Linked DNA regions of Homo sapiens: region 1 is linked to region 2. Evidence: promoter capture Hi-C in human tissues and cell types (Jung and others, 2019). All regions are on one chromosome and are shown on one strand. Each heading gives the region's core, a stretch centred on a gene start or on the middle of the fragment in contact. The rest is flanking DNA. Distances are from core to core; before and after follow the strand shown.

The links. The method cuts DNA at HindIII sites, captures the fragments that hold promoters and counts their contacts. A contact is called where the count stands out against the background at its distance.
Region 1: a contact is called between a fragment that was not itself captured here and the fragment with the promoter of KLF9 in region 2, in 1 of the 25 tissues and cell types used here (dorsolateral prefrontal cortex).

What each region holds. Positions count from the first base shown.
Region 1 is chr9:71,850,541-71,855,647 of GRCh38, reverse strand. No RefSeq gene overlaps it. Among named protein-coding and RNA genes, the nearest start is that of ABHD17B, 58 kb to the left of the region's middle. The HindIII fragment of the contact is 6,828 bases long and covers 1-5,107 here.
Region 2 is chr9:70,412,070-70,416,758 of GRCh38, reverse strand. It overlaps KLF9 (KLF transcription factor 9), which reads left to right and starts at 2,102. Exons shown (of 2, transcript NM_001206.4): 1 at 2,102-3,900. The coding sequence starts at 3,396. It overlaps KLF9-DT (KLF9 divergent transcript), which reads right to left and starts at 2,569. Exons shown (of 4, transcript XR_001746710.3): 1 at 2,349-2,569. LOC124900273 (a long non-coding RNA gene) reads left to right here and starts at 3,953. Exons shown (of 2, transcript XR_007061576.1): 1 at 3,953-4,409. RefSeq lists enhancers at 2,390-2,519, 2,860-2,939, 2,768-3,621, 3,960-4,069, a promoter at 2,251-3,053 and silencers at 3,230-3,409, 4,145-4,337. The HindIII fragment of the contact is 13,608 bases long and covers 1-4,689 here.

The DNA.
Region 1 (5,107 bases), core at 2,142-4,641, 1.4 Mb before region 2:
ACAAAAATTAGCCGGGTGTGGTGGTGCACACCAGTAGTCCCAGCTACTCAGGAGGCTGAGGCATGAGAATCACTTGAATCTGAGAGGCGGAGGTTGCAATGAGCCAAGACTGTGCCACTGCACTCCAGTCTGGGCAACAGAACCAGACTCCATCTCAGAAAAGAAAAAAATGGTCTTCATCACCCACAGCTCCTGTTTCCCTACTCCCTTGCCTGCCCCACCAAAGAAAGGTCTGAAAATTCTCAAAATAAGGAAGACTGTAATTTAGAATAATTAATTTGGTGTAAGAAAACAAGAACTTTTAAATTTATGATAATCCTCAGGAGATAAAATTTGTACTTTCTAGAGAGCATTCAATGCAAGTGACCAATTTATTTTTATCCCTGATTTTTCCATATTCATAATGCTGCTTATAGCAAAGGACTTTTTAATAATCCTATAATATATGTGAAAGGGCTCTTAAAATTGTAAAGCTATATTCTATTCCAATTATTTATTATTAGAGAAAAATGAGCATGATGTCTGTGTATAGGCTGTTCCATTGAAATTTCCACGAAGATGCTTTGGTGCCTCACTCATATTCCTTAATCTGTACCACTTCAGTGCACACGGGCCCACTTGCCAGCTGCCAGCACTTGTATTTCTTCCCTGAGGGCTTTCTCTCACTACCTGAGCCAGTTTTGCTGTCCAGTCTGCCGGAAATATTGCCAGAATTACACTCACTGGGAGCAGCCGTTAACCAAAGACTGGCTGGAGTTTAGGCACACCCCAGCTCCCTTGCCTTTCAGGTGGGATAACTGAGCTTCGTGTCCTTCACAGGTTCCCAGAGTTTCCCCAGAGAGATTACAAAGATTATGCTTCAGTCACTTAGAATCTTAGCTATCTTAATTTCAGACTTTATTGGTTGCCTTTTCCCTCCTTGACATTTCCCCATTCTCCTGGATCTTCTTCATAGCCTAAAATAAACTGTAGACCTCCTAAAATAAAGTGTAATGAGACAACTTATTTTATTTTGCTTTGCTTTATTGTGCTTTGCAGATACTGCTTTTGTTTTTTACAAATTGAAGGTTCATGGCAACCCTGCGTCAAGCAAGTCTATCGGTGTCATTTTTTCCAACAGCATGTGCTCATTTTGTGTCTCTGTGTCACATTTTGGTAATTCTTACAATATGTCAAACTTCATATTATTACTGTATCTGTTATGGTGATCTGTAATCAGTGATCTTTGAGGTTATTATGGTAATTGTTTGGGGGTGCCATGAAACACGCTCATATAAGATGACTAAGATGGCAAACTTCATGGATAAATGTGTGTGTCCTGACTGCTCCACCAACCAGCCATTCCCTCATCTCTCTCCCTCTCCTCAGGCCTCCCTATTTCCTGAGACATAACAATATTGAAATTAGGCCAATTAATAACTGCGATGGCCAGGTGCTGTGGCTCACGCCTGTAATCCCATCACTTTGGGAGGTTGAGGTGGGCAAATCACATGAGCTTGGGAGTTTAAGACCAGCCTGGGTAATGTGGAAAAGCCCTGTCTCTACCAAAAACCCCAAAATCAGCCAGGTGTGGTGGCACACACCTGTAGTCCCAGCTCCTTGGGAGGCTGAGGTGAGAGGATCACTTAAGCCTGGGAGGCAGAGAGGTTGGCAACAACCAGCCTGGGTGACAGAGCAAGACCTTGTCTCCAATATATATATTATAATATATATATATAATAATATATAAATTATATATAGTATATATATAATATATATTATATATAATAATATATATACTATATATAATATATAATAATATATAGACTATATGTAATATATATAATATATAGACTATATACAATATATAATATATAGACTATATACTATATATAATATATACTATATATACTATATATAATATATAATATATATACTATATATAATATATATACTATATTTAATATATATTATATATAGTATATATAATATATGATTATATATACTACTATATATACTATATATAATATATAAATGTATATACTATATATAATATACATACTCTATATTATATATATAATATATACATATATATAATATATATATATTATACACAGACATCATGCTCATTTTCTCTAATAATAATTGGAATAGAATATAGCTTTACAATTTTAAGAGCCCTTTCACGTATATTATAGGATTATTTAAAAGTCCTTTGATATAAGCAGCATATATATTATATGTATTTTATATATATATTATATATTTTATATATGTATATATAATGTAAAAACCCCTGCAATGGCCTCTAACTGTTCAAGTGAAAGGATGAGTCATTAGTCTTTCATGTTAAATCAAAGGCTGGAAATTGTTAAGCTTAGTGAGGAAGGTATGTGTAAGGCTAAGACAGGTTAAAAGCTAGGTCTCTTGTACCCAACAGTTAAGAAGTTATGAATGGAAGGCAAAAGTTCTTGAAGATAATTAAAAGTGATACTCCAATGAATACATGGATAAGAAAGTGAAACAACCATATTGGTCATAGGAAGAAAGTTTTTTAAGTGTTCTAGAAAGATCAGACCAGCCACAACATTCCCTTAGGCCAAAGCCTAATCCAGGTTAGAGACCCTATTTCTGCAAAAGACAGAAAAAATTAGCCAGGCGCAGTGGCTCACGCCTGTAATCCCTGTCTACCAAAAATACAAAAATTAGCTGGGCATGGTGGTACACACCTGTAATCCCAGCTATTTGGGAGGCTGAGGCAGGAGAATCACTTGAACCCAAAGGCGGAGGTTGCAGTGAGCCGAGATCGCGCCACTACCTCCAGCCTGGGCAGCAGAGTGAAACTCTGTCTCAAAAAAGAAAAAGAAAAAATTAGTTGAAGGTGATGGCGTATGCCTGTAGTCCCAGCTACTTAGGAGGCTGAAGCCAGAGGATGACGTGAGTCCAGGATTTCAAGGCTACAGTGAGCTATGGTTATACCACTGTACTCCAGCCTGGGTGACAGAACATGATCCTGTCTCAGGGAAAAAAAAAAAAAAAAAAAGAATATATATATATATATATATATATATACACACACACACACACATATTTATTTATATATATTTATTTATATATGTATATATTTATTTATATATATTTATTATATATATTTATAGCTATATATAAAGCTAATATATATAATATATAAATATTATATTATATATATAAATATATAATATATATATAAAGCTAATGTAGCTTGTCACTTTCAGTTGAAGCCAGTGTTCATTTACCATTCAGTTGAAGCCAGTGTTCATTTACCATTCTGGAAATCTTAGGGCACTTAAGAATTATGTAAATCTACTCTGCCTATGTTCTATCAATGGAACAACAAAGCCTGGATAATAGCACATCTGTTTACAGCTTGATAACTGGATATTTTAAGCCCATTTTTTGAGACCTACTGCTCAGAAAAAAAGAATTCTTTCAAAATGTTACTGCGCATTGTCAATGCACCCTAAGAGCTCGATAGAGATGTACAAGGAGATTAGTGTTTTTATAGTGGCTAATGCAACATCCAAGCTGCAGCCCATGGATCAAGGAATAATTTTGACTTTCAGGTCTTATTAAGAGATACATTTTATAGGGCTATAGCTGCCATAGATAGTAAATCTGGTGAATCTGGGCAAAGTAAATTGAAAACCTTCTGGAAAGGAGTCACCAATCTGGATGTCACTAAGAACATTTGTGGGCCCTACACGGTGGCTCACACCTGTAATCCCAGCATTTGAGAGGCCAAGGTGGGTGGATCACCTGAGGTCAGGAGTTCAAGACCAGCCTGGCCAACATGGCAAAACCCCATCTCTACTAAAAATACAAAAATTAGTCAGGTGTGGTGGCAGGCACCTGTAATCCCAGCTACTCAGGAGGCTGAGGCAGGAGAATTGCTTGAACCTGGGAGGCCGAGGTTGCAGTGAGCCAAGATCGTGCCACTGCACTCCAGGCTGGCCAACAGAGTGAGACTCCATCTCAAAAAAAAAGATTTGTGATTCATGGGAGGAGGTCAAAATAGCAACATTAGCAGGAGTTTGGAAGAAGTTGATTTCAACCCTCATGGATGACTTTGAGGAGTTTAAGACTTCAGTGGAGGAAGTAAGTACTGATGTAGTGGAAATAGCAGGAGAATTAGAAGTGGAGCTTGACAATGTGACTGAATTGCTGCAACTTCATGATAAAACTTGAACAGGGCCCGGTGAAGTGGCCCTGTAATCCTAGTAATCATGACTGTAATCTCAGCACTTTAGGAGGCTGAGGCAGGAGGATCACTTGTGCTCAGGAGTTTGAGACATGCCTGGGCAACATAGTGAGACCTTATCTCTATTAAAATAGTTTTTTTTAAAAAATTAGCTGGGTATGATAGCATGTGCTTGTAGTCCCAGCTACTTGGAAGGCTGAGGCAGGAGGATTGCTTCAGCCCAGGAGATGGAGGCTGCAGTGAGTCATGATCATACTACTGCACTCCAGCCTAGGCAACAGAGCAAGATCTTGTCTCAAAAAAGAAAACACAATCTTGAACAGTTGAGGTGTTGCTTCTTATGGATGAGCAAAGAAAGTGGTTTCTTGAGATGGAATCTCCTCCTGGTAAGGATGCTGTGAACATTATTGAGATGACACAACAAAGGATTTAAAATATGACATAACCTTAGTTAATAAAGCAGCAGCAGAGTTTGAGAGCATTTACACCAATTTTGAAAGAAGTTATATAGAGAAAATGCTATCAGACAGCATCTTATGCTTCAGAGAAATCTTTCCTGAATGGAAGAATCAACTGATGCAGCAAACCTCACTATTACTTTAAGAAATTGCCACAGCTATTCCAACCTTCAGCAACCACCATCCTGGTTAGCAGCCATCAACACTGATATAAGAGCCTCCACCAACAAAAAGATTACAACTTGCTGAAGGTTTGGATGATTGGTAGCCTTTTTTAGCGACAAGATTTTTTTTTTTTTTGCAGCAAGATATTTTAAAATGAAGGTATGTACATTGCTTTTTTAGGCACAGTGGTATTGCATACTTAATATAATACAGTATGATAGAAACATAACTTTTTTGTTTGTTGATTTGTTTTAATGTGCTTTCTATA
Region 2 (4,689 bases), core at 853-3,352:
AAGCAGCAGTTATGTTTGTAAATGTGTGAGAAATTCATGTAGATGAAATCTCAGTTTTCTTTCATTACTTTCTTTTGTAACTCTGAAATGAGTGAGTTTGGAGAATTCAGTGTTTATGTCCAGTTCAAACAAAGTGAAATTAAAGGGAATTAAAGAAAAGCTGGCAAGGAGTAAGGAAGGGAAAAGTTTATATTTTTAAAAAACCTAAAGTGACTGATGTATTCAAATTCCTGGATTATATAATCTTCAAGGAAAGATACAGACTTTTCCTCTATTCTGGAATAATGATGATGGTGGTCCTAGGGCTGTCTATAGATGTCCAGGCCCGAGCAGTCTGTTTCACCAGTACAATCCCAGTTAAAATGCAAGTCTGAGGGGTTGTACAGGCCATGATCATAGAGATCCTGGAGAGATCCCGCTGGTATATGCACTGGGCCTTGAGGCAGGCAAAGGTGCAATTTCTAAGTGATCGTGTATCCTAGGGGACAAAATTTGTCCCAGAAAAATCATGAAGTAGGCAAACTCCCCTGGGCTTCAGTGAATTCTTTTCTAAAATTAAGAGATTAAGTTCTAAAAATGCAAGAACTCCAAGATGGCTTGGAGTTTTTTATACACTGTATACCTACCTTACAGGGATGCATGCAGGGTGCTTGGTACAGGGCCTGACACAGAGTAAGCCCTCCATGAAAGGGGTCGGTGATAATGATGCTGATGGTGATGATATTCTTGGTTGCCCAGTATCCCCTATCTACACCTTTCTTCCACCTGCAGTCACCTACTGCAATATCTTCCCTGTACCACTTTAATATTTTTGTTGTTGTTTTCTTTATTTTTTTAAGCTGTACACTTTTATTGAACTGGTCTTGTCAGGTTTGTTATTTTTTAATTAAAATCTATTATACTCTTACTTACCTGAGCCACCCTTAGTTATGATTTAAAAAAAAACAAAAAAAACAGGGCCTTGCTCTGTTGCCCAGGCTGGAGTAGTACAGTGGTGTAATCAGGGCTCACTGCAGCCTTGACCTAGGCTGACGCAGTCCTTCAGCCTCAGCCTCCTGAGTAGCTGGGACTACAGGTGCGAGCCACCACGCCTGGCTAACTTTTTTTTTATTATTATTATTTTTGATGTACCACTTTAAAAACAAAGTCAAAAGAAACTACTGTAGATCTCACATTGGTAGAGTCAATTTGAGACCCTTGCCTCGGAGACCAGAACCTGGTGTAACTTTCTCTTAACAAAGGTTAATAGCCAGTGGGGGGTCAGGGTTGGAACTCACCGAATCTGCATCACATAGAATCAGGTACCTCTCACATTCACGAAAGTGAATTATTTTTAATGAATTGTGCTGACAGTATGCCTCTTGCAAAAAGAACTAGCCCTAGATTCTTTTCTAGCTATCAAGATGGAAAACAACCACATCGTTAATTCAGACGGAGGGGTAAACCAAGTTAATCAGACTCCAAGACCCATACTAATTGTTGACCAAGTAATGCCACAGTATTCCATGGCTAAGGATTTCCAGCTTGTTCCAGTCCCTAAAAATCTGTTCTGCACAGTTAATATTTCACAAAACCAAAAGGGCTTAGTTGCAAGCACAAAGAGCTAGAAATCAGGAGACTTGTGGTTTCTATTGAGTTCTATCATTATCTGTCTAATAAGATAAATAAGTCACTTCTCTGTAACTCAGTTTCCACATTTGTGAAGTGAGGGAAGAGAAACATGTCCTAAAAACCATGCAGGGGCTCTGGAAAGAAAAAGAGCTAAGAATGGTGGGTTTTTTATAAAAGTTACACAAATGAATGGTTTTTGTCTCCGTTTTTCTGAAAGTGGGTTAAAAATAGCCTCCAAATAAAGCTAAAAGAATTTATTTAGACTAAATTGCACCAGAGAAGTAGAGGAATTAAGAGATATGACAAGCAAAGATGGGATGTTTCAATGGAAGAATCTCAGGCAGTAAAAAGGCTATGCTGTAAAACCAGAACTTTTGTTAGCACTGCATTTTTAAGATGAATTGGTCATAGTTAATGTATTGGATGGAAGAATTTTTAAACATCTGCCCCAAAGTATGCTGCATCCAAAAAATATATAACAAAACGAATTCTTACTCATTTGTGTTTATTCTTGGACTTATCCTGACATAATGGGGTTTTTTTAATTATAGATTCACACTGCATTTATTCATCACCCCTGTCCTCTCATCCATAACTCAAATTTACTACCAGCAACACAAAATACAAAGATGTGTCCAGTTTCACTACAGCTCTTCGCGTTTACAAGTGTCGAGCGCTTGCTTTCGGAACGCCCTTGTGATTGGCCGAGCCAATGCCAGTGACATCAACCAACTTACTTTTGATTGGAAGGCTGGTTGCTGGGACTGTAGCGTTTGCAGGAAGTCACTTAACTGTTTGGGAGCTGGAAAACCGAAGCTGAAGTTCTCTTTTGCCATAGGAACGAGCGCAACTGACTAGGAAAGATGTGTCCCAAAGCTCCGCAAGCTGGAACGTGAGCCAGGAGGCCCGGACCGGCCACGGGACCGCGAGGCACTCCGAAAGTGTGCGGCTGCCCCTTCCCTGCCTCCCAGCTGTTACCCTTTTAAATGTCAGTGTTCGAGGCTGTAGGGGTAGCACGAGGCAGCGAAACGGAACAGTCGGATTGGCCGCACGCCTCAGTTCTAGACGCACCTCTCCACCGAAGGCCGTTCTGACTGGCAGGGGGAGAAAGTAAACAGAGTTGAATCACCCTCCCCACTGGCCAATTGGAGGGGGTTTGGTTTGTGACGTGATGGGATTCTGCGAAATTGTTACTGAGCAAGAGAATGCCGGAACGGTGCGGACCGGCCGGAGCAGGGGTTCAGAAGCCGTCAGTGGACTCGGGAAAAAGTGTCTCTTAGACCTGGCGCTCGGCGGGACCCTCGCCACCCGCGTCGGGGTGATCGGGTGAATGTCCTGGGGCTTTGGCTCGACGGCGAGGCGGCCGAGGGCGTGCACCTCTCTTGCAGTTTCCTCTCCCAGCGCCTCGGGGGCGTTTTCAGTCGAATAAACTTGCGACCGCCACGTGTGGCATCTTTCCAAGGGAGCCGGCTCAGAGGGGCCGGCGCGCCCGTCGGGGGATCGCGGCCGGCGCGGGGCAGGGGCGGCGGCTAGAGGCGGCGGCGCGGCGGAGCCCGGGGCCGTGGATGCTGCGTGCGGAGGCGCTGCCGGTTACGTAAAGATGAGGGGCTGAGGTCGCCTCGGCGCTCCTGCGAGTCGGAAGCGCCCCGCGCCCCCGCCCCCTTGGCCGCCGCGCCGTGCCGCGCCGCGCCGCGCTCGTCGTCCGAGGCCAGGGCAGGGCGAGCCGAACCTCCGCAGCCACCGCCAAGTTTGTCCGCGCCGCCTGGGCTGCCGTCGCCCGCACCATGTCCGCGGCCGCCTACATGGACTTCGTGGCTGCCCAGTGTCTGGTTTCCATTTCGAACCGCGCTGCGGTGCCGGAGCATGGGGTCGCTCCGGACGCCGAGCGGCTGCGACTACCTGAGCGCGAGGTGACCAAGGAGCACGGTGACCCGGGGGACACCTGGAAGGATTACTGCACACTGGTCACCATCGCCAAGAGCTTGTTGGACCTGAACAAGTACCGACCCATCCAGACCCCCTCCGTGTGCAGCGACAGTCTGGAAAGTCCAGATGAGGATATGGGATCCGACAGCGACGTGACCACCGAATCTGGGTCGAGTCCTTCCCACAGCCCGGAGGAGAGACAGGATCCTGGCAGCGCGCCCAGCCCGCTCTCCCTCCTCCATCCTGGAGTGGCTGCGAAGGGGAAACACGCCTCCGAAAAGAGGCACAAGTGCCCCTACAGTGGCTGTGGGAAAGTCTATGGAAAATCCTCCCATCTCAAAGCCCATTACAGAGTGCATACAGGTTAGCGGCGTCGCCCTCTCCCCCGGAGCTCTGGGGTTAGTTAACCTTTGGCCAGGCAGCGTTCCTGGGCGTTCGGGACACTGCACTCGGCCGAAAGGGTGCAAACATGTTGGATAAGATGCGGTTTAACTCTTTAAATAATTTAAATGTGCATTGGCGGAAAGCTCACTCTCTCCTTAATTGTCCCCGGCCTCCGGGAGCCACGGAGAGCCTTAAACTGGCGGGCAGAGCGAGTGCGGTGCGTGGCTTCGCGGGGAGTGGTGTCCGCCCCTCCCCTGTCCCGCCCCGCCCCCGGGACTCTCCCGCACCCCGCGACGGTGGGGCCACCCCACCTGGGAGACGCTGGCAGCGGGGAAGTCAGATGGCGTATCTTTTATTTAATTCTCTTGTCGGGTTGCAGAGAAGTGGTTGAAACCGAGGGGGGACGCGGCGCACTTTACTTCGAGCCTTTTAGGGATGACTAAGGACTCATTTAACTGGATGCCTGCTACTTTTTTGGGCTTGCCAAGGTGGTTTTAAATTTGGCTGGGAGTCCCCCGAGAGGTTTAAAATAACCCGGCTTCAGGCAGCATAGGAGTCTGATCAAGTAATGGTGGTTAACTTCACTCATGAGTCCTCCTGATGAGCCAGGTTTCAGAGCTGACTTTTTTTTTTTTTTTTTTTTTTTTTTTTGGCCATGTGACTTAGGTCGCACCCTCCACCCCTGAATCGCGGTTTGCAGGGAGGTGTGGTCCTTGCCGGAGGTCAAGGCTTGGTAATGAATGTTGGGCGGTTCTGGAGGCCTCAGGG